Regions from separate parts of the Homo sapiens genome. Here all the other regions are linked to region 6. The links are contacts of gene promoters, found by promoter capture Hi-C in blood cells and fetal thymus (Javierre and others, 2016). All regions are on one chromosome and are shown on one strand. The core of a region is centred on a gene start or on the middle of the fragment in contact, and the rest is flanking DNA. Distances in the headings are between cores, read along the strand shown.

Region 1 (3,254 bases), core at 621-3,120, 310 kb before region 6:
TCACTATTTACAGTTGAACAAACATGCAGAGGCAAAGAAATGGGAGTAAGAAACTTTACAACTCAGGGCATGAGAATGTGTATGACCAGCCTTGCTGACTGAGAAAAGTACAAGTTTGACATTTTAATGATTTTGATTAAAAGAAGCTTTCTTTGGCTTCTGAGGAGCTGGTTTTAGGTGTGATGTTAGTTTCTGTTTTTTTCTACTGGGTTTGGAAGATACATGCAGCTGCCAATAGAGTATGTTCTTCCAACTTCTCGGCCATAATAATGAACCTAGAACTTACTGTGTTTGCCTTTGTGCATTATCTTCCTTGGTGCTCTTTAGAGCTCTGTGGGCATTTTATAGATGAATCAACCTAGGTTTGGGGAGTTCCAGTGATTTACCCAAGATCCCCCAGCAAGTCAGTGCTGATAGAGCTGGGGCTTGAGCTTAGCTCCTGACTCCTTGTCCTTCGTTCTTCCTGCTGCTCTAGCTGTAACAGTCAGCCTCTTAGCCATTAGCATCTGCTGTTAGCATCCTTTATACTCAGCAAGGCAAAGCTAACTTGGAGGTTAGCTTTGGCCTTGGCCTGAGCACCGATTGAGCTCCCCAGCTTCACCATTTGAAAGCGTCAGCACAGCTAGTGATGAGCATGAAACTACTTCTTGTAGCAGTGCACTGGATTGGGAAGCAGTCTGTCTGTTCTGCACACCGAGGGCGTTGTCTCCACAGTGCTTCTAAGCAGCTTGCTTTCACAGATGTTGGTAGCTAAATGTCTGGAGTTGCTTTACTTTCCTTCCCAAAAGGTGTCCTGACTTTTTCCCTTGCTGTTACCTCTGGTTATCACCTTTGGGACAGGAGCAAACAAAAATATTTTCTTTTTTAAATTGTTTCTTTAAGATGTTCCTAATTTCTTAAAAATCCTTCTTTTATTTTGTTCTGTAGGTACTCCAATATCTTTGTTACCTCCCCAAGCCCTGATAACCTCCATACTCTGTTTGAATTTGTATTTAAAGGATTTGATGCTCTGCAATATCAGGTAGGAAATTTGGATTAAGAATTTTTATTTTGGACCTGGTGTGGTGGCTCACGCCTGTAATCCCAGCACTTTGGGAGGCCGACGCGGGCGGATCACCTGAGGTCGGGAGTTGGAGACCAGCCTGACCAACATAGAGAAACCCCGTCTCTACTAAAAGTACAAAATTAGCCGGGTGTGGTGGCGCATGCCTGTAATCCCAGCTACTTGGGAGGCTGAGGCAGGAGAATCGCTTGAACCCGGGAGGCGGAGGTTGCAGTGAGCTGAGATCACGCCACTGCACTCCAGCCTGGGCTCGAAACTCCATCTCAAAAAAAAAAAGGATTTTTATTTTGATACAGTGCTGGGTTTAAATCCAAGTGAAGTCTTTAGAATACTTGCTTACTTTCATAATATTTAGTTTCTGAAACTTGTTTCTAAAGTTTGTCATTGGTTTGACTCCCCACCAGGAACATCTGGATTATGAGATTATCCAGTCTCTAAATCCTGAATTTAACAAAGCAGTGATCAGAGTGAATGTATTTCGAGAACACAGGCAGACTATTCAGGTGAGGCTTGTTCTCAGACCCTGATGTGCAGGGCCAGTGTCTTGCTGTATTTAACTGGCTCTAAGATGTTTCCTGTTATAGACATGTATGTCTTGTGTAATTGCATGTCTTTTAGACAATGGTGGTGTTGTATGCTAAACCTGTTCCAGATTTTCAGACTCTTCTAAAGAAAAACATTCAGCAAACTAACAAATATATGTAGTTAGATTGAAAAGTTGTGTTTTTGTCCTTTGAATATGGAATAAGTGGGGTGGAAAGTACGCTGATTAACTAAAAGAGAATCTTTCTTCTGACATCAGCTCTAACTTTGCTTAGTTATTGCAGTTTTTGAAATGTTGCATCTGTAACTAGAACAATAACCTTACAGCTTAAATGAAAAAAAGAACTTTGCAAAATGTGCTCTGAATCTTTGTGGTTTAGCCAGTGGCCTATTTTCTTTTTTAAACAGTGTTTTCCCAAAAGTTCTAAAAATCTCTAGCACTCTGTAAGCCTGAATGGTCTGCACTTGTCCAAAGGCTGCAGTTTTGCTAAATCTCTAAGAGAGGCATGAGGTGATGGGCTTACAGACGGACTGAGACTAATGGGCTCTTACTGGAGGAGGTTCATTGATTATTTTTGGAATTGGGTTGGGAAGTGAGCCAGGTGAATTTGGCAGTTTATACCCTAGCACTTTATGCCTGTCAAAGCATATGTATATGCATGTCAAGAAGTTATACCTTTTTATCAGAGGCCAGATTATAAACAATGTTAAGTGTTTATGCCTTTCACCTTAATTTTTTCTTACTAGCCTCTTTCTAGAATCTCTTCATTCTGTACATTTCTGCTCACTTTTGCTCGATTCCCCCAGCTGGGAGGAGGAAAGGCTGCTGTTGGTGAGGGTCAGGCTGCAGGCAATGAGAACACGGAGACCTGTTAAAACTCAAGAAAAATACACAAACCAAAGAAGGAAAACATTTCCCTGAAATACCCTGCCTCGGGCCTTGCTCCTTCTTGAATTTGTAATCAAATACTCTCTCATATTACCAGAGTTCTTTTGTCTCCAGTGTGAGCACAGAGGAGGTGACCTTACTTTATGAGACTCCATTTGTGTACCTTTCAGGCCTCTCTTTGGGCTCAAGATTGAGAAAAAGAAGAATATTAGATAAAAGTTGGCTTCACCTCCCCTGGGGGGCTGCTTTCTGCTGCTTTTATGAGATGCTTGTTTAGTTTTTCCCTTGAAGAAGACAAGATCTGGGGCCCTGTTGAGGATGTACATTCTGCTGCTAGAAATGAGCAGGGTTGGCCGGGCATGGTGGCTCATGGCTCTAATCCCAGCGCTTTGGGAGGCTGAGGTGGGCGAATCACTTGAGGTCAGGAGTTGGAGACCATCCTGGCCAACATGGTGAAATCCCATCTCTACTAAAATTTAAAAAAGTTAGCCAGGCGTGGTGGCATGCGCCTGCAATCCCAGCTACTCGGGAGGCCGAGGCAGGAGAATTGGTTGAACCCGAGAATTGGTTGAACCCTGGAGGCAGAGGTTGCAATGAGCCGAGATCACACCACTGCACTCCAGCCTGGGCGACAGAGTGAGGCTTTGTCTCAAAAAATGAAAAAAAGAAATGGGTGGGGTTGCCGCCTCCCTGGCCCATCAGCTTGTAGCAAAGCAGAACATCTTATTTGTAATGAAATAGTTCAAATGTATAGGAGCG
Region 2 (3,432 bases), core at 204-2,703, 450 kb after region 6:
AAGTACAAAATGGTCTGCTGGTAAGTAAAACCCATCTATAAAGTAGGAAAACCAAGGGTACTCTGTTTATTCAAGTGACTTGGTATGTTGTAAATGTCTTTGTAAAATGGAAATTAATTTAGACTTTGATGAACTTTGGGTAATTAAAAGATTAGCCAAATGTTTTAGAAAAATATATTTACACCTACAAAGAAAGAGATATCTGGATAAAAATATAAAAATGACAGAGCTTTTTAGAATAGAAACATGCCAAATATTAAAGTGAAATATCTACTTGGTGCTTTAAGCCACAAACAGAAAGCATTTTGAATTTCAAGTTACTAAATTTTGGAATATACTTCTCTGTACTCCTGCATTTTCACTGTGGTAAGCAAGGGCCAAACCCCAAGAGGTCAAAATACATCTATGTTCAGTTGCTTCTATTTTTATTTGCTTTCTGGTCAGTTAAAAAATAATTTAAATCTTATAGTGCCTCAATTATTTTGTCTACAATGTGACTTTATTAATTGTAGTCCTAATCACATGCAACAGGATCAGTCTCTCTGACACCTGTCAATATTACTCTGTGAAAACAGGAAATTATAAATTTGAATGATAGCGACCCAACCTAAACACAGTAGCTATTGAGTATCCTGGAATTGCCTTGATTACTATTATTTTCTTGGTCATTTATTTCCTTCTTCTGACTTAATTTTTGGTACCACATACTTGTAGCATAAGCTGGAATGGTCCAGTCAAATCTTGGAATTAGTAAATCATTTTATGTTCCCAAAGAGCTTATTGTCTGTATTATTCTGGAAACATAATTTATTGCGTTTGCATTTTATTCCAAATTTATTTGCCCTAAGCATCAAAGAGCCAAACTTTCACTAACAACATGAGAATAGTATTGCTGATAATGCTAGTGACTTATTAAGTCATTTAAATATTAGGGAAAAAAACCAACATTTTACTACAAAATATTCATTTTACTATGTAAAGCACAAATTTAATAAGATTCCAAATACAGTGCCATGTGACTGTGGCTCTTTCCTTCCATGACCTCCACACCCATTAAGAACTAAGGATAAAGCATTTCACATATATGATGAAAATTTCCTATGAGCTGATTTTAGTGCTATAAAAGCCCATTTAATTTTAAAAGATGCGCCAATGAGTGGTTTATGGTGGTCACATAAAATGGTAGTGCATGGATTAGTAAAATTCTACTAGAAAGAACATAGTCCTTTATGTCTTTTTGATCAAAAATATTTCATCTTGAGTCCTGCATTCACCTATTTTTAACTTTGCTAGTTTTTTTAAAGAGCCAGTTGGAAATGGTTATTTTAGCTCATTTGGTAGAAAGCTTTATTTTATACATACACAAACTATTTCTGAACATGCAAATAAAAAGCAGTTAACTAAAGACAGCATTTAGAATATGATTTATTATAAATAATACAGTTGGGAAACTATATTACTGGGACTCAACTTCTAAATGGATACATGAAACAAGAATAAATGTTGTTATCGTAGGATTTGCTGTGAATAGGCCATCTTGAAAGTTTTGGCAAAATAATGTGAAAGCTTGAGCAATGCTGTATTTACACATTAGCAACTAGGCTGATGGTAAGAGAGGAGGCACAGATGGATTTATTGATCTACCATATGGAACATAATCTTACTAGACTGAGAGCATACTTTTATCCCTAACTGTGCCAGTTGTTAACAGAGGAACCTCTTGTCATTTCCCAATGTTCAATGAAAATTTCATGAGTTAACTCAGTAATTTAAAGCAGATAAAATTATAATGGCATCATCTTGTGGTGTACCATTGAATCCCTTTTGTTCCCAATGTTCTGATTATATTTTACATTCCATTCCTTAATATGCAATGCAGCCTCCTTGGGGGCATGACTATATATATTCAACAGCACATAAATATTTTAATAATCCAATTTTGTTAAAGAAAGTGAATTAGAATGAAGTAATAAATCAACATCACTCAATTTAACACACAACCTCCAGACAATAATATTCCTAACACATTTCAGGAGGAAAAAAAGATTAATCCTGTATTGGAAATCCTTGAATGAGATTCTATAATCTTAATTTCATTGATAGCAAGTTACTTCTTACTCACAGTTACTAATACTTACTTTATTTCTTCATCTTCTTGAATAAATGACACTAAATAAATACAATGAGCAATTGAATACTATTTATCCTTTCTGCTTCAATTTAAGTCCAGTACATCTTGTTTTGTCCTCTGAGGAATACAGATTAGCAGGCACTATATTCATTAATGATACAGGTGCTTAGAAAGCATACTGCCGTTCTTTTGATTCAATAAAAAATAATTATTAGGATTTTTAATGATTAGTCATCTGTATTTAAGTGACTTTGAAATATGTATCTGGGAGGTCAAGGCAGGTGGGTTGCTTGAGCCTAGGAGTTTGAGACCAGCCCATGCAACTTAGTGAGACCCAGTCTCTACAAAAAAAAAAAAAAAAAAAACCCCAGAAAAAATTAGCCAGGCGTGGTCGCACATGCCTGTAGTCCCAGCTGCCCAGGAGGATGAGGTAGGAGGATTGTTTAAGCCTGGGAAGTCAAGGCTGCAGTGAGCCATGATCGCCCCACTGCACTCCAGCCTGGGTGACAGAGCAAGACTCTGTTTCAAAAACCAAAGTACCTGAACCTTTGAAACAAATCCTATCTACCTAGAGAGGATCCTCTAGAATCTCAGGTATATGAACATACTTGGTAGCATGTTATTTAACTCTGGTACTCAAAAACTGAGTATTAAGTTATTGTGATTTGAAATTGTGGATCTTCAGTCTTTAGCTATTTGACATATCTGCAGCTTTTGTACATTGCTTCCATTCAGTTACACAAATGTCCACTTGTCCATTTAGAAACTAAAGACCTTCAGTATCACATAAAACTGATCATCAGTTGTTCTTTGGATATAACACATTAGACTTGCTGTGGTCTACTCAAATGGAGAGTTCCCAGTAATAAAGGCTGCCAGAAACTTACCCATGCTTCAAGCTAATTCCTCCTCCAGTCCCAGTGACCCAGCCTAAATGGTAAAACTGTTTGCAAAGTTCTGGGATCAGGTATCTTGGATGCTCCTTGTCCTTAAAAAGAAGGTAATGATTTTTAAAACAGACATCATTTTATCAAGTAACTATTCCAGCTGGTGTTTCTAATAAGAAGCCAATTTAAGAAAGTTTAAGAAAACATACTATAGAAAGAGTACAGTGAAGGAAAAAACTATTACAAACATATTTTGTTTTTAATGTTTAGAAAGTGGATCTACTACATTATTTGGCAACCTGGGAGTATTCGGTATAGGGCCATATAGTCCAACACTAAGGAACAGGCTGCAAAAACAAGGTGGGGAAATGCCTAGTATACATTACAAAGCATCAACTGAAATGGCTGAAAGAA
Region 3 (3,025 bases), core at 91-2,590, 290 kb before region 6:
AAAAATTCATTTGTTCACAGTAATAACGGACTCAGTCGTTTTGAAAAATACTCTTTTTCATAAAAATTTTGGTGAGAAGAGTGGCATTGTTTTACATTTACATTTTTGCAAATCTCTTCAATATCTGGCTTAACAGAAGGCAGCCGGATACTAATGTCTGTGTCTTCACTGACACTATTTTGCTGTCATATCTTATACTCTCTGGAAAACTGAATATTTGTGAGAGAATGAAAATGAAAAAAGGCAAATAACTGTTTTCATACTAATCCAAATACATTTTGACCTTGTGGACACCTGAAAGGGTCTTAGGGACCCCAGCAGTCCCTAGACCACTCTTTGAAAATCTTCACTCCAAGCTTCTTATCTGCAGAGTGGTGCATTTGTAAATAACTTAGGCTGGAACCTTCATCAGTTTTCCCTGGGAGTACAATGAGGCCTCCCCTGCCCAGAGCCACTGGAATTGAGGCTTTCACAGCTGATTTGGGGGTTGATGGGGAGGGTGAGATTTTGGCAATCCCCTATTTATTGGTTTCCTTAAAAGCTTATATTTTGGAAACATTCGGGAAGAGGAAACCTTGTGTCTCTAGGAACTATAGATCCCAGAAATCAGGTACTGTCTTCCAGAGTCTCCGTTAGTCACTGTGGCATCTTGAAGGATCCAGCATCGATGCCGGCCTCATTTCCCAGATGCTTTGTGGTGCAGCACAGAAGCCCACTGTCAGTGTGACCTGTCTCTGTTTTGTACAGTATGGCAAATGTAGCACAGGGCCCATGATGGCTTTGGCCTTGAGCACGGTGGCTTTGACTGGAACAAAAGGCCGGGGAGCATGCTTGCTGTGGAGACGGCCTCAGCTCCTCACTCTGCAGAGCTTGGCCTTTCCTGCCATTTGTTTGGCCATTGCTGGTAGTGAGAAGCCTCTCGAGCCCAACAAACCAGTGTTGTGTGGTTGTTCATGTGCTTGATGGCTCTGAGTAAATGTGAAAGCTTGAACTTTGTGAGCTAAAAATACTGGTAGCTATCATTAAGTCCTCTGAGGCCTTTCTTTTTCTTCCTTTGAGAGGTACTTCATTCATATGATGTTAATGGTCTCTGGACTGAACTCTTCACGGTCTCCTTATAGGGAAGTATTTGTTCCCAGAGCAAAATTTAACCTGTAAGTTTCTTAATGGCAGGTGGCCGTTTGCTGAGTGATTCCTATGCCAGGATATCAATGAAGAATCCAGGGGCTGGTCGCAGGGTGTCACCTGAGTTACTGTTGTTTGGGTTTTCTTCTTCTCATATAGGAAAAATAAAATAATAGTAGCACATCAGAAAGTATGGCAGGGTTTTCCTTGGAGTCTCATGCCTTGTATTAAGGACTGTCTTCAGGGTCATTGGGATGAATATGTCTAGTTTCCAGAGTCACTGCAGTGGTGAGAGTGGTGGTGGGGAATCCTTGTGGTGCCTTAGGTCTGTCTTGGGAGAGGGGAGCAGAGTGTACTGCACCCTGAGGAGAACCCGGATTTCAGGTGTTAAGATCGAGATTTGTTCTTCCACAGACTAAGAGCTGGCTCAGGGCAGGAGCTGGTCTGTATGGTGTGTCCCCAGCCCCAGCACAATGCCTGCCCCCTAATAGGTTTGCAGAGAACATTAATGTCCAATTGGGTGGCCTACATCAAGTTTCAGACGGTGGAAACCCTTTTTGACAAAGCAAAGCAAGCTTAAAGCAGTCTCAGATGTTCAGATCTGTACATATTTCATTCTTTCTATTTTTGATTTTTCTCTAGTGACAAGAAAAGGAAGTTAGAGGCCAAACAAGAACCCAAACAGAGCAAGAAGTTGAAGAACAGAGAGACAAAGAACAAAAAAGATATGAAACTGAAGCGGAAGAAATAGTGAAGAGAAACTCGGGCATCTGTGTTTGATCATGGGAAGATACTCTCACTAACTGAACCCTCTCTGGCTGGACTGTTAAAAGCAACGAGAGGCCCCGGCACACCTGGAAGCTGGCCGCGAATTCGGCCTCTGGGCCTGTGTGTCTGTGAGCTCAACCTGGCTAAAGGCAGAGTCACTCCCAAATGGGTCTCTTTAGAACTTGATGGCTGGGCACTGCCATCTCTAGAATTGCCACGAGTCTCTCTCTTCCTGCCCAGTCCAGGGCCCTCCTTTCCTATAAGTTCATATTTTGCTTTGAGCCAGCTTTTTAGTCTCATTCCCACACATGTGGAAGCCACGTTGCCTCTCGACCGCCTGAGGCCCTTAAGTACATCGCTTTCTGGTGGTGCCCAGGAGGCTGCTGCTGGGCCGCTGGGTCTCTCTTTGTGGACTTGTACCTGGAGCAGGAGGAACTCCAGTCCGTCCCGGCATCCATGGCAGCCCGCGGTTAGGTGCGCCAGGGTTTGCTGATGTTGTCTTGTGCTGTTCCACTCTTGGCTCCAGCAGACCCACTGTCCCAGAAAAGCCTGATCCTGTAGTTTATGTAGAATGCCACATCTGCGTCCTCAAGACCTGTTTCATCCATTTGGGAAAAGATGTTGGGAAAGGCCACTTTGCTCGCAGGGGTGAGGGGAAGGATAGAGAATCTATTTTTAATAAATAACATTCTAGAAAGATCAGCTGCCTGTGAGTGTTCTGAAATCCACGCACCTGGACGTTTCTTCTGGTGGGTCTTGGCTGCCTGGTGGAATTTGGAAGGTGTTGGTATCAAGGTCAAAGGTGAGCAGTGTGTCTAGGGCTTCCCAGCCCAGGAGTCTGCGGGAGAAGTGGCAGGTGGCTATGGTCACCTCGAGGGGCTTGGTGTGGTGGCTGGAAGCCAGCTAGAACTGCCTCATTTCCTTCCCAGCTCCTTCCAGGTCACTTGGTCCCTTCCATTTGTTGGGAACAGAGGTAACCTGGTGGCTTTACACATACTTTGGTATGTTTGTTTAATGGTATCCAGGCTAATGAGTCTGCAGCCCCGATATGTTGTCTAGGTTCAGAGAAGGACAGGGAAGGAAACGGTAACTTCTCAGCCTAAGGGTATTTCATATACAGCTCCTAGGACTC
Region 4 (3,195 bases), core at 367-2,866, 390 kb before region 6:
AAGGATTATCATCTCCGTTTCTAGCCTCTAGGCCTGGCATAATTGCTCAGCGTAGTGCTAAGGATGGTTTAGGTGACTAAATTTTGAAACTATGACTCCCCATCTAATGCAGCAAAAGCCAAAGTCCTTACCGTGGTCTTTCAGGCCCTACAAGACCAGCCCCCTTTAATATGTTTGACCTCATCTCCTACTCTCTGCTCTTGCCACTATGGTTTCCGTGCTGTTCCTTGAACCCAAAAAGCACACTCCGTCTCAGATCTTAGTACTTGGTGTTTCCTCTACCTGGAAAATTCCTCCTCCAAGGTAGCTGCTTAGCCTTCTTCCTCACTTCCTTCAGTACTAGCTCAAATGTCAGTAAGGCTTTCCCTGACCACCGTTTTTTCTTTTCTCTACCATTTCACTATCTGACATGTATTTACTTGTCTTCCCCTTACTTAGATTGTAAGCTCCATGTAAATATGTTTTGTTCATAATCCCTAGCACTTAAGAGTTCCCAGCACACAGTAAGGTGCTTAATAAATATTTGAATGAATATATAACAGACTTTGCAGCTAACCAGGATATCTTGAGGTCGGAGGCTGCTGTTGTTTCTCCAGGCTCCCTCAGGATGCACTGTTGCCAGTCAGCGTTACTCATTTTATTCCCTAGGGAACAGTGGGTTTGGTAGAACTCTCTTCTAAATCTCTTTTTCATAGAATTTAAATTATAAATTGGTCATTTACTGTTGTCACACAATATTGCGTTGCTGAATTTTCCACTGATTATATTCATTTTATTTCCTCCCAGAACTTGGTTTCTTGTTTTTCTGCTCACTGTCCACACCCACTCCACCCCAAGGCTGGAATAATTCTCTTGGAGCAAAAAAATCATCTTTTTCTTTGTATTTCATTGAACGTTCTCTTTACAGTGTTAGGTAAACCTAAAAAAAAAGGAAACAAAAGTCTAATAATTCGTAATACTCAGGCCTACTGGATGTATAACATCATAGGGTAGCTGAAGACTCTTTGTGAGGCCAGAGCTTTAGGATTTAAAAAGCCACCAACCATGACCGTGTCCGACACGTTCTACAGAGAACTCCTAGGTTACTGGGTGATTGTTTGGTGGGGAAGCGGCGAGTTGTCTTTTTTTCAAAAGACGTTTTGGGGTATGGAGTTTGCTCGCTCTGCATACAGAAGGAATTCTAGAAGCTGGGATCGCACCACCCACCCCACGCACCCCTTACTTGCAGAAACCTTTGCCCCCCAACCCCCACCCCCACCCCAAATAAGGGCTCTTCAAGGGGCAGTTGCCAGCTCCAGAGCCAGCTGCTTGACACCTATTGTCCCCGTTTGGGCGTCAAACGATTTCGCCTGAAGGACCCTAGCGTCGATTGCTCTCAAAACTCAAGGGGCCTTTCCTTCGGCCTTGCCGGGGCCATCCCCACCTGCGTCCAGGAGGCGCCCCACAGCGCCGGGGCCGGGGGACGGCGGAGAAGCTAGCGGGCGGCCTCTTCCGGGCAGGCGTTCGCGCCGGGCAGCCCGAGCGGCCGCGAAGGCCCCCGCTCTCCGCTTCTCCCGCCCCTCGCGACCCAGAGGGCTGCTGGCTGGCTAAGTCCCTCCCGCTCCCGGCTCTCGCCTCACTAGGAGCGGCTCTCGGTGCAGCGGGACAGGGCGAAGCGGCCTGCGCCCACGGAGCGCGCGACACTGCCCGGAAGGGACCACCACCCTTGCCCCCTCAGCTGCCCACTCGTGATTTCCAGCGGCCTCCGCGCGCGCACGGTGAGCGCCACCCGGGACCGAGCCGCTGCAGGGGAAGAGGGCCGCTGCGCCCGGGTGTCCTTTATCTCCGGACCCGCTGGAGCTTCCGAGGGGCTTGCCCCCAAGTCCCCCCACCCCACCCCGGTCATTTCCCATGCCCTTCTCTGCCCCCAAGCCCCGACCTCTCTCTTTCCTCCCTTCTCCGGAAGCCGGCAAAAGCCGGCCCTCCCCGGTAGGGACCGTTGCAGTGGCCGTTGGCGGCCGGCGCGGCGATGCCCCGCCTCCGGCGCGAGCCTCGGAGCCCCCGGGCTGGTAGGCCGAGCCGGCGGCTCCGCGGGGGAGGGGCGGGTCGGGGGGCGGTGCGAGGCCCAGCCGGGCGCCCCGCTGGCGGGTCGCGCGCGCGCCCGCGCACTCTTCCTGCCCTCGAGGCGCGCCGCGCCCCCTCCCCCACCCGCTCGCGTAGGCTACCGCTCGCTGCGCGTTTTGTCCCGCGTCTCGCCCCGTCCGTCTCCTGACTGGCCGCTCTTGTCCTTCCTCCCGCTTTTTCTTCTCTCTCCTTGCGGTCTGAAGATGCCCTCGGCCACCAGCCACAGCGGGAGCGGCAGCAAGTCGTCCGGACCGCCACCGCCGTCGGGTTCCTCCGGGAGTGAGGCGGCCGCGGGAGCCGGGGCCGCCGCGCCGGCTTCTCAGCACCCCGCAACCGGCACCGGCGCTGTCCAGACCGAGGCCATGAAGCAGATTCTCGGGGTGATCGACAAGAAACTTCGGAACCTGGAGAAGAAAAAGGTGCCAGGAGTTGGCGGGGAAGGGAGGGGTGGCTGCGGCCGGGCTCTGCGGCCCCTCCGACCCTGGTCGCTGGAGCCTTCGCTTCTTTTCGTCTCGGGAGCGTTACTAGGTCCCCTCCTCCCACCCCCTGGCCCACACGCCCCGTCTCCACGTTCAGCGGGAGCTTCGTGCCCAGAAAACGGGCTCTTGGAAGAGGCACTTGTCACCTGACTCGGACGCGGCACTGTACCCCAGGCCTCTTTATTACTCTTCCGCTGTGGGTCCGGCTTTTTGGCCTTTAGGAGTGGGACATGTGAGGGTGGGGGCCTGTCGTCAGGACTTCACTGTATGGTGCCCTTCTTTCCGTCTCTGAGGCCCGATTTCTCTGACGAGGGCCCAAAATGAAGAGGTCCCTGCGCGGGGGGCTCCGGGTTCAACCGACCGCCTCGTGGAGTTGGGGCGGCCTGCGTCCTGCAGCCTTGGGGTCTGTCCGCTCGGTTACCATGCACTCGAGACCTGTCGAGCGTCCCCTCTTCTTCCGTAGGAGAGAAGTGTGTTTAGAATCTTAAGGTAGAACTGCCTTTCCGGCAGGCCCATTTTGAATGGGTCTTCGATTTGCTACCCCCGCGCCCATGCGATGGGCTCCCCTGCGTTTCCCTCTTTGTTTCAATTGTTTAGGTGTCCCCCCGAGCCT
Region 5 (3,155 bases), core at 187-2,686, 450 kb before region 6:
TCCCTAATCTCAAGTACCCAGGGACACAAACACTGCGGAGGGCCCCAGGGTCCTCTGCCTAGGAAAACCAGAGACCTTTGTTCACTTGTTTATCTGCTGACCTTCCCTCCACTATTGTCCTAGGACCCTGCCAAATCCCCCTCTGCGAGAAACACCCAAGAATGATCAATAAAAAAATAAACTAAAAAAAAAATAATTTAAAAGGCAACAACATAACCTAGCTATAATTTCTGCTTTAAGGAAACCTAAAAATGACAAACAGAAAGTCAGCATTTTTCAAAATATGTGCTGTGAGATACTAGTTCCCGGATGTGCTGGAGGGGGAGTAAGAGAAGGGTACCCTCTTAGTTGAGAGAAATTTCAGAAGATTAATTTCCTCCCTTTGTTTTGTTTCCACACTCAGATCGTAAGTTTCTGATAATTTGCTTTTTGTGCTACTTGCTCATGGGAAGAGCATGTCCTGGGCCACACGACACAAGCTTTCCAGGCTTTTGCTTCACAGCTCAAGTTAGCCTTGTGAAGCTAAATGTCAGCATTCATGGCTAGGCATGGTGGCTCATACCTGTAATCCCAGCACTTTGGGAGACCGAGGCAGGCGGACCACTTGAGGTCAGGAGTTCGAGACCAGACTGGCCAACATGGCGAAACCCTGTCTCTACCAAAAATTTAAAAATTAGCCAGGCATGGTGGCACATGCCTGTAGTCCCAGCTACTCGGGAGGCTGAGGCACAAGAATCACTTGAACACAGTAGGCAGAGGTTACAGTGAGCCAAGATGGCACCACTGCACTTCAGCCTGGGTGACAAAGCAAGACCATGTCTCAAAAAATAAATAAATAAAAAATAAATGTCAGCACTTATACTTATATAAAAACATATGCGTATGTTCTTGTATACATATAGTGATTTAGCTGAGTAGTTAATTTAGTCATAGCAAATACGCTTAACACTTTACATAGCAAATATGCATAACAAATACGCTTAACACTTTTTCTTCTTTAAGTGGAAGGGCCATAGTGGGGGGACTTTCACCTTCAAAGCTACACTTTCTCTAATATTTGAAATTTTTACAATAGCATGTTTAATGTATATAACCTAAATATATACATATATTTAAGTTACCATATTCAATTGTAGAATTTGAGAGGTAAAAAATATTTTCCCAAAAATGTTCCCAAATGCATCTCTCAAGCTTCCACATGCCCAGACTGGCAGAAAATCCAATTTTCCTAAGCACAGCCCACCTACCTCCTTCTCTGCAAAACTCCCCTGCCTCTGCTTGTATTCAAAGCACAAGCCCTGGCTGAATGTGCTTGCCAAGTCCCTAGAATTGAAGCTTAGAGCGCCCCCTTGAGCCTTGAGGGGCATCCACAGTGCTGCCCAGCTCTTATTCTTTAATATGCAACCGACGAACGTTGACTTGGTGTAAGAGACCCTCTTGTCAATGCTGCTGCTGTTGCTCCTCCCAGTGACCTTAGAGTTCTTTTTAGAAATAGTTTCTCTCACTGAAAAATATAAAAGTCATCTTCACCAGACTCTAAGCTTTTCTTTTTTTTTTTTTCGAGACAAGTTCTCTCTCCGTCACCCAGGCTGGAGTGCCATGGCACAATCTCAGCTCACTGTAACCTCCGCCTCCCGGGCTCAAGCGATCCTCTCACTTCAGCCTCCCCACCCACCCCCCACCCCCCGGGTAGCTGGCACTAGAGGCATGCGCCACCATGCCCGGCTAGTTTTTTGTGTGTTTTTGTTTTTATTTTTTGAGACAAGGTTTTACCATGTCACCCAGGCTGGTCTTGAACTTTTAGACTCAAGCGATCCACCCCCCTCAGCCTCCCAAAGTGCTGGGATTACAGGAATGAGCCACCATGCCCGGCCTTATGTATTATTTGTTTAAACTTCACAACATACCTCGATGATAGGTGCTATTCTTCCCATTTTATAGATGAGAAGACTGAGATTTGGAGAGCTTAAATAAGGGGTTTAAGGAGACATTGCATGAATGCTCAACTTCTTGGACAAATAGGACATGAAACTCATATGGAGGTGATTCTGTCAAAAGCATCTACGCAAGGGCTCTGCAGTCTACACCTAGGATGGGCTAAGCCCAGGTTTTCCACACTAGGATGTGTGGACTTTCTGGAATAAGCAGAATCCTGTAGGTACTGATACGGTAAGTAAACACAGTGTATCATCTAAGAGTATGTATTAGTCCATTTTCGCCCTGCTATAAAGACATATCCAAAAGTGGATACTTTATAAAGAAAGGAGGTTTAATTGACACACAGTTCTGCATGGATGGAGAGGCCTTAGGAAACCTACAATCATGGCAGAAAGCCAAGGGGAAGCAAGGCATGTCTTACATGGCAGCAGGTGAGAAAGAGAAGACAGGGGAAACTGCCAAACACTTTCAAAGCTTCAGATCTCATGAAAACTTACACACACCGTCACAAGAACATCACAGGAGAAACCACTCCCATGATCCAATCACCTCCCACCAGATCCCTGCCTTGACATATGGGAATTACAGTTTGAGATGAGATTTGGGTGGGGACACAGAGCCAAACCATATCAGAGTATCAGTTTTCCTTCAAGGTTTTTTGGGGTAAATGTTATTTTATAGTAAGACCAATGGATATATTAAGGAGCATAAATGAAACATTTTAAAATACTTTGAGATAAAAAGGCAAAAAGATAAAACTAAAGCCATCCCGTTGGTGAAAGATTGCATCACAAAATCCTCTAGGACAATGCTTCTCATGCTTTCACGTGCAGATGTCTCTCCTGTAGGCAGGGCCAGCTCCATGGGTGTGAGGCCTGTGGAGTCGCACCTACACTTGCAGATCCTGACTCAGCATGGCTAGGCTAAGGCTGCGATTCTGCAGTTCTAACGAGCTCCCACGTAATACCTGTTGTTGGTCCAAAGACCACACGTTGAGTGGCAAGACCCAGCCCTTCTCTCTATACCTCTGTTTGTTAACACTTAACCAGGAAAGTTTAAGAAGCAGTAGAGAAGGAGGGCAGTGAATCACAGCAGTCAAAATAATATAGTGAAAAGCGTGGGTCTTTACCACTACTTACTCTGTAAAATACTGAGAGGTGACAGCGTGCTGGCAGTCCTCAGAGCCCTCGCTTGCTCTCGGCACCTCCCCTGCCTGG
Region 6 (3,387 bases), core at 113-2,612:
TTGGGAGGGTTAACTAAGCAAATATACAAAAAGCTGAGAATAGTCCCTGGTATATAGTAAGTGCTCAATAAATTATGGATGGGAGGATCCTGACCCACATGGAGTTTACAGTCTTGGCAGTATGGATCGGGCAGGTAGAAAAAGACACCAAATTACACAGCCAACAGCATCTTTATAATTGTTTTTAATATAGGAAAAGTATAGGGTGCTAAAGATCAATTTGTGGCTTTCTTTTCCAATGAACTGCTAAAGTTCCACTTTTATGCCCAAGATTCTTATCATACTTTTGTAAGATCAAGAACAACATGTGAAGTTTCCACTATTATATATCCACCCATTATATGTAGTTGTACTGGAAAAAATTAAAAGCTGATAACTTTTAATTTGAAGATGATGGTATATACTATGTATATATATTAAGGTGCTTAAAGATAAATCCTAGCACCTGAGGAGGTGTAGAAATCATTCAAACTCTTTGATTACAATGACAAACTAGTCAGTAACTTACTAAATATTGTACTATATATTACTAAGTATTTTACTCTTCAACATAGCTTTTTAAAGACACAAAGCTTTTCAAAATTCCTGCTTACCTGGGGGTAAAATTTGGGGAAGCAGATTTCTCCAGTGTTTAAAGAAGCCAATTTGGCAGTGTACCAGAGTTGAATACATTTTTCCCATCACAAGGGAATACATTTTTCCCATCTAAGTTAAGTTGTTTTTCTCTGGTAAAGGAGGAAATCAACACCCATCTGTACGGAGATAAACGTTTCAGAGTGTTTTTATATTAAATAATTAGTATACTAGTCTAGTAAGTGATAATCCACGAATAAGTTAAGAAGAGCTAAGAAAGAAAAAGAAAAGCATCCATCCATCCTTTGGTTGCAAATAATACTTACATTAGCGTATGGCAAAATTTAATTTTGTACAGAGTAATTTAACCCAGGATTGCTGACTTTTTAAGAGCTGAGAAAGCATAGCTATGGAGCGCAAGGCCCCACCCAGCAGGGTCTAAGTATTCCGTCTGCAAAACTGGCAGGCCACCAACGGCCGCGTCCCAGGGCGGCCTGAAGGATGCTGATAACCGGGAGCCCCGCCCTGGGTTCGGCTATCCCGGGCACCCCGGGCCGGCGGGGCGAGGCTCTCCAATTGCTGGGCCAGAGCGGGACCCTTCCTTTCCGCACCCTCCTGGGTATCTCCGGTCTTCAGGCCTCCTTCGGAGAGCCCTGCTCCGAGCCCATTGGGCTTCCAATCTTGGCCTGCCTAGCGCCGAGCAGCCAATCAGAAGGCAGTCCTCCCGAGGGGGCGGGACGAGGGGGTGGTGCTGATTGGCTGAGCCTGAAGTCGCCACGGACTCGGGGCAACAGGCAGATTTGCCTGCTGAGGGTGGAGACCCACGAGCCGAGGCCTCCTGCAGTGTTCTGCACAGCAAACCGCACGCTATGGCTGACAGCCGGGATCCCGCCAGCGACCAGATGCAGCACTGGAAGGAGCAGCGGGCCGCGCAGGTACACTCTGTGCTCCCCGAGCGGGCCCGAAGGTCCGTTTAGAAAGCGGGGGCGTCGGCAAGTAAAGGCCCGGCTTCCCCCGGGGCGGCGCTTGGAGGGACTGTACCGCGGCTCACTGGGCAGGGGGGATCCCCTTCGGTGCAGACGGACTTTTACATTCGCCGAAGCAGGGGAGGGGGGTCCGGGTAGTGGGGCGCGGGACTGCAGGCTTTGTTGTCCGCGACAGGCTCGGGTGGTTGCTTCAGAATTTTGCACTTTTGCCAACTGGGACAGAGGTCGCAGCTTGAGGACAGATTGAGGGCTCATGGGGAAAGAGGCAGAGAGCTGCAGCTGCAAGGAAGTCAGTGAGGGGAGAAGTGGAACCAGGCTCTAATGGTGCCCTTCTTGAAATACTGTTTACACGCTTTCATAGTTGTGGGGTCCCAGCAGGGCAGGGATTGTGTTTTACAATCTTGAGGTCTCCAGCACCAGTCACAGTGACTGGTACGTACTATGCACATTATTAAACGACTAAATAAAAGAACTTTTACATTCATTGTCTCATTTGCACTTCAAAATGTCAAGCCTAGCATTTTAGAGCTGGGGGGTGACATTAGGGATTGATTAATGCGTTTATTCTATTCTTTGAGCACCTGTAGGTGCTAGGCACTGTTCGGGGCAAGGTGTACAAATTCCAGTGCGGCAAGAACAACACCCTTGAGAAGCTGAGAGTCTAGTCTGGGAGACGAGACACATAAACAGATGATTACACTCCAGCGTGGTGAGGGCTCTAATAGAGGTTATCTGTAGAATGTAGAGGGAGTGACCAGGTGGGCCGGACAAAGCAGGTGACATTTGAACAGGAATTTTTTTAAATGAGTAGGATTTTAACTTGGTGGTGGGGGAGGCATTCCTGGCCTGTGCCCACGGCTGCAGAGTCTCAGAGGGCATCTATGAGGAGGTTGGATTAGATGAGACCACATCTGGTCTGAGTCTACTGTTGGCAGATTGGCCCAGGGAGTCTAAAGGTCTTGCCCTGTTCCCTGGCTGCTGGTTAATGGTAGACAGAGGACTGCAGCCCTGTTTTCCCTATTCTGCCTAGTGCTCTTGCTCAAAACTCAGGTTCGTGAACTGGGGTATTAATGCTAAGTGCTCATGGATTGCTTTAATGGTTCCCTGTTTGGGAAAAGGCTGCCATTCTCCTCCAAGGGCCTGGAAAATCTCCCCTCTTGGCCCTGTTCTTTGTTATATACCATTAGGTTGGTTCATGAGCTCTTAAAGTAAACCAGAGAGAGGTAGAGTCTTAGTAAAGGATGTGCCACTACTTAGTGGCAGAGACAAGGTTAGAATTCAGCTTCTTGGACCCAAGACTCTTTCCTTACCCAGTGGGTGCAAATCCTGGTTCACACTGAAGTTTTCATGAATACTCGGTGAATTGAGAAAAGTGTGGACAAAGTAGTGAGATTTTTACAAAACAAAATATTTTCTTTTTCTTTTTCTTTTCTTTTCTTTTTTTTTTTTTGAGACGGAGTCTTGCTCTGTTGCCCAGGCTGGAGTGCAGTGGTATGATCTCCACTCACTGCAAACTCCGCCTCCCGGATTCAAGCAATTCTCCTGCCTCAGCCTCCCGAGTAGCTGGGATTACAGGTGTCCACCACCACACCCAGCTAATTTTTGTATTTTTAGTAGAGATGGGGTTTCACCATGTTGGCCAGGCTGGACTGGAACTCCTGACCTCAGGAGATCTGCCCGCCTTGGCCTCCCAAAGTACCGAGATTACAGGTGTAATATTTTCATTTTTAAAGGACTCCCCTTTATTCTGAGACTAGCTGCCTTCTTCCTTGTTTGGGAGAATCATGAACTGTTGAAGTCCCTGCTGTTGATTTACCTTACATAGTTG

The links. The method cuts DNA at HindIII sites, captures the fragments that hold promoters and counts their contacts. A CHiCAGO score of 5 or more calls a contact.
Region 1: a contact is called between a fragment that was not itself captured here and the fragment with the promoter of CAT in region 6, in 1 of 17 cell types (megakaryocytes). The highest score is 5.6, in megakaryocytes.
Region 2: a fragment that was not itself captured here is called in contact with the fragment with the promoter of CAT in region 6 in 1 of 17 cell types (M2 macrophages); the score reaches 5.5 in M2 macrophages.
Region 3: a fragment that was not itself captured here is called in contact with the fragment with the promoter of CAT in region 6 in 1 of 17 cell types (erythroblasts); the score reaches 5.7 in erythroblasts.
Region 4: a contact is called between the fragment with the promoter of CAPRIN1 here and the fragment with the promoter of CAT in region 6, in 1 of 17 cell types (neutrophils). The highest score is 5.5, in neutrophils.
Region 5: a fragment that was not itself captured here is called in contact with the fragment with the promoter of CAT in region 6 in 1 of 17 cell types (fetal thymus); the score reaches 6.7 in fetal thymus.

Annotation. Positions count from the first base shown.
Region 1 is chr11:34,122,835-34,126,088 of GRCh38, forward strand. NAT10 (N-acetyltransferase 10) reads left to right here. Exons shown (of 29, transcript NM_024662.3): 10 at 928-1,021; 11 at 1,468-1,566. Among named protein-coding and RNA genes, the nearest start is that of NAT10, 19 kb to the left of the region's middle. The HindIII fragment of the contact is 3,453 bases long and covers 145-3,254 here.
Region 2 is chr11:34,891,992-34,895,423 of GRCh38, forward strand. It overlaps APIP (APAF1 interacting protein), which reads right to left. Exons shown (of 7, transcript NM_015957.4): 2 at 3,019-3,119. Among named protein-coding and RNA genes, the nearest start is that of APIP, 23 kb to the right of the region's middle. The HindIII fragment of the contact is 221 bases long and covers 1,344-1,564 here.
Region 3 is chr11:34,144,317-34,147,341 of GRCh38, forward strand. NAT10 (N-acetyltransferase 10) reads left to right here. Exons shown (of 29, transcript NM_024662.3): 29 at 1,768-2,592. The coding sequence ends at 1,876. Among named protein-coding and RNA genes, the nearest start is that of NAT10, 40 kb to the left of the region's middle. RefSeq lists enhancers at 655-894, 1,125-1,294. The HindIII fragment of the contact is 715 bases long and covers 984-1,698 here.
Region 4 is chr11:34,050,115-34,053,309 of GRCh38, forward strand. CAPRIN1 (cell cycle associated protein 1) reads left to right here and starts at 1,617. Exons shown (of 19, transcript NM_005898.5): 1 at 1,617-1,757; 2 at 2,307-2,522. The coding sequence starts at 2,307. LOC101929918 (a long non-coding RNA gene) reads right to left here. Exons shown (of 3, transcript XR_931177.3): 1 at 2,205-3,195; 2 at 557-919. RefSeq lists silencers at 1,272-1,471, 1,331-1,880, 1,921-2,220 and enhancers at 2,831-2,900, 2,971-3,040, 3,111-3,180. The HindIII fragment of the contact is 10,606 bases long and covers 1-3,195 here.
Region 5 is chr11:33,986,828-33,989,982 of GRCh38, forward strand. No RefSeq gene overlaps it. Among named protein-coding and RNA genes, the nearest start is that of CAPRIN1, 63 kb to the right of the region's middle. RefSeq lists an enhancer at 2,922-3,155. The HindIII fragment of the contact is 206 bases long and covers 1,334-1,539 here.
Region 6 is chr11:34,437,572-34,440,958 of GRCh38, forward strand. CAT (catalase) reads left to right here and starts at 1,363. Exons shown (of 13, transcript NM_001752.4): 1 at 1,363-1,508. The coding sequence starts at 1,443. RefSeq lists enhancers at 1,176-1,225, 1,396-1,695. The HindIII fragment of the contact is 7,598 bases long and covers 571-3,387 here.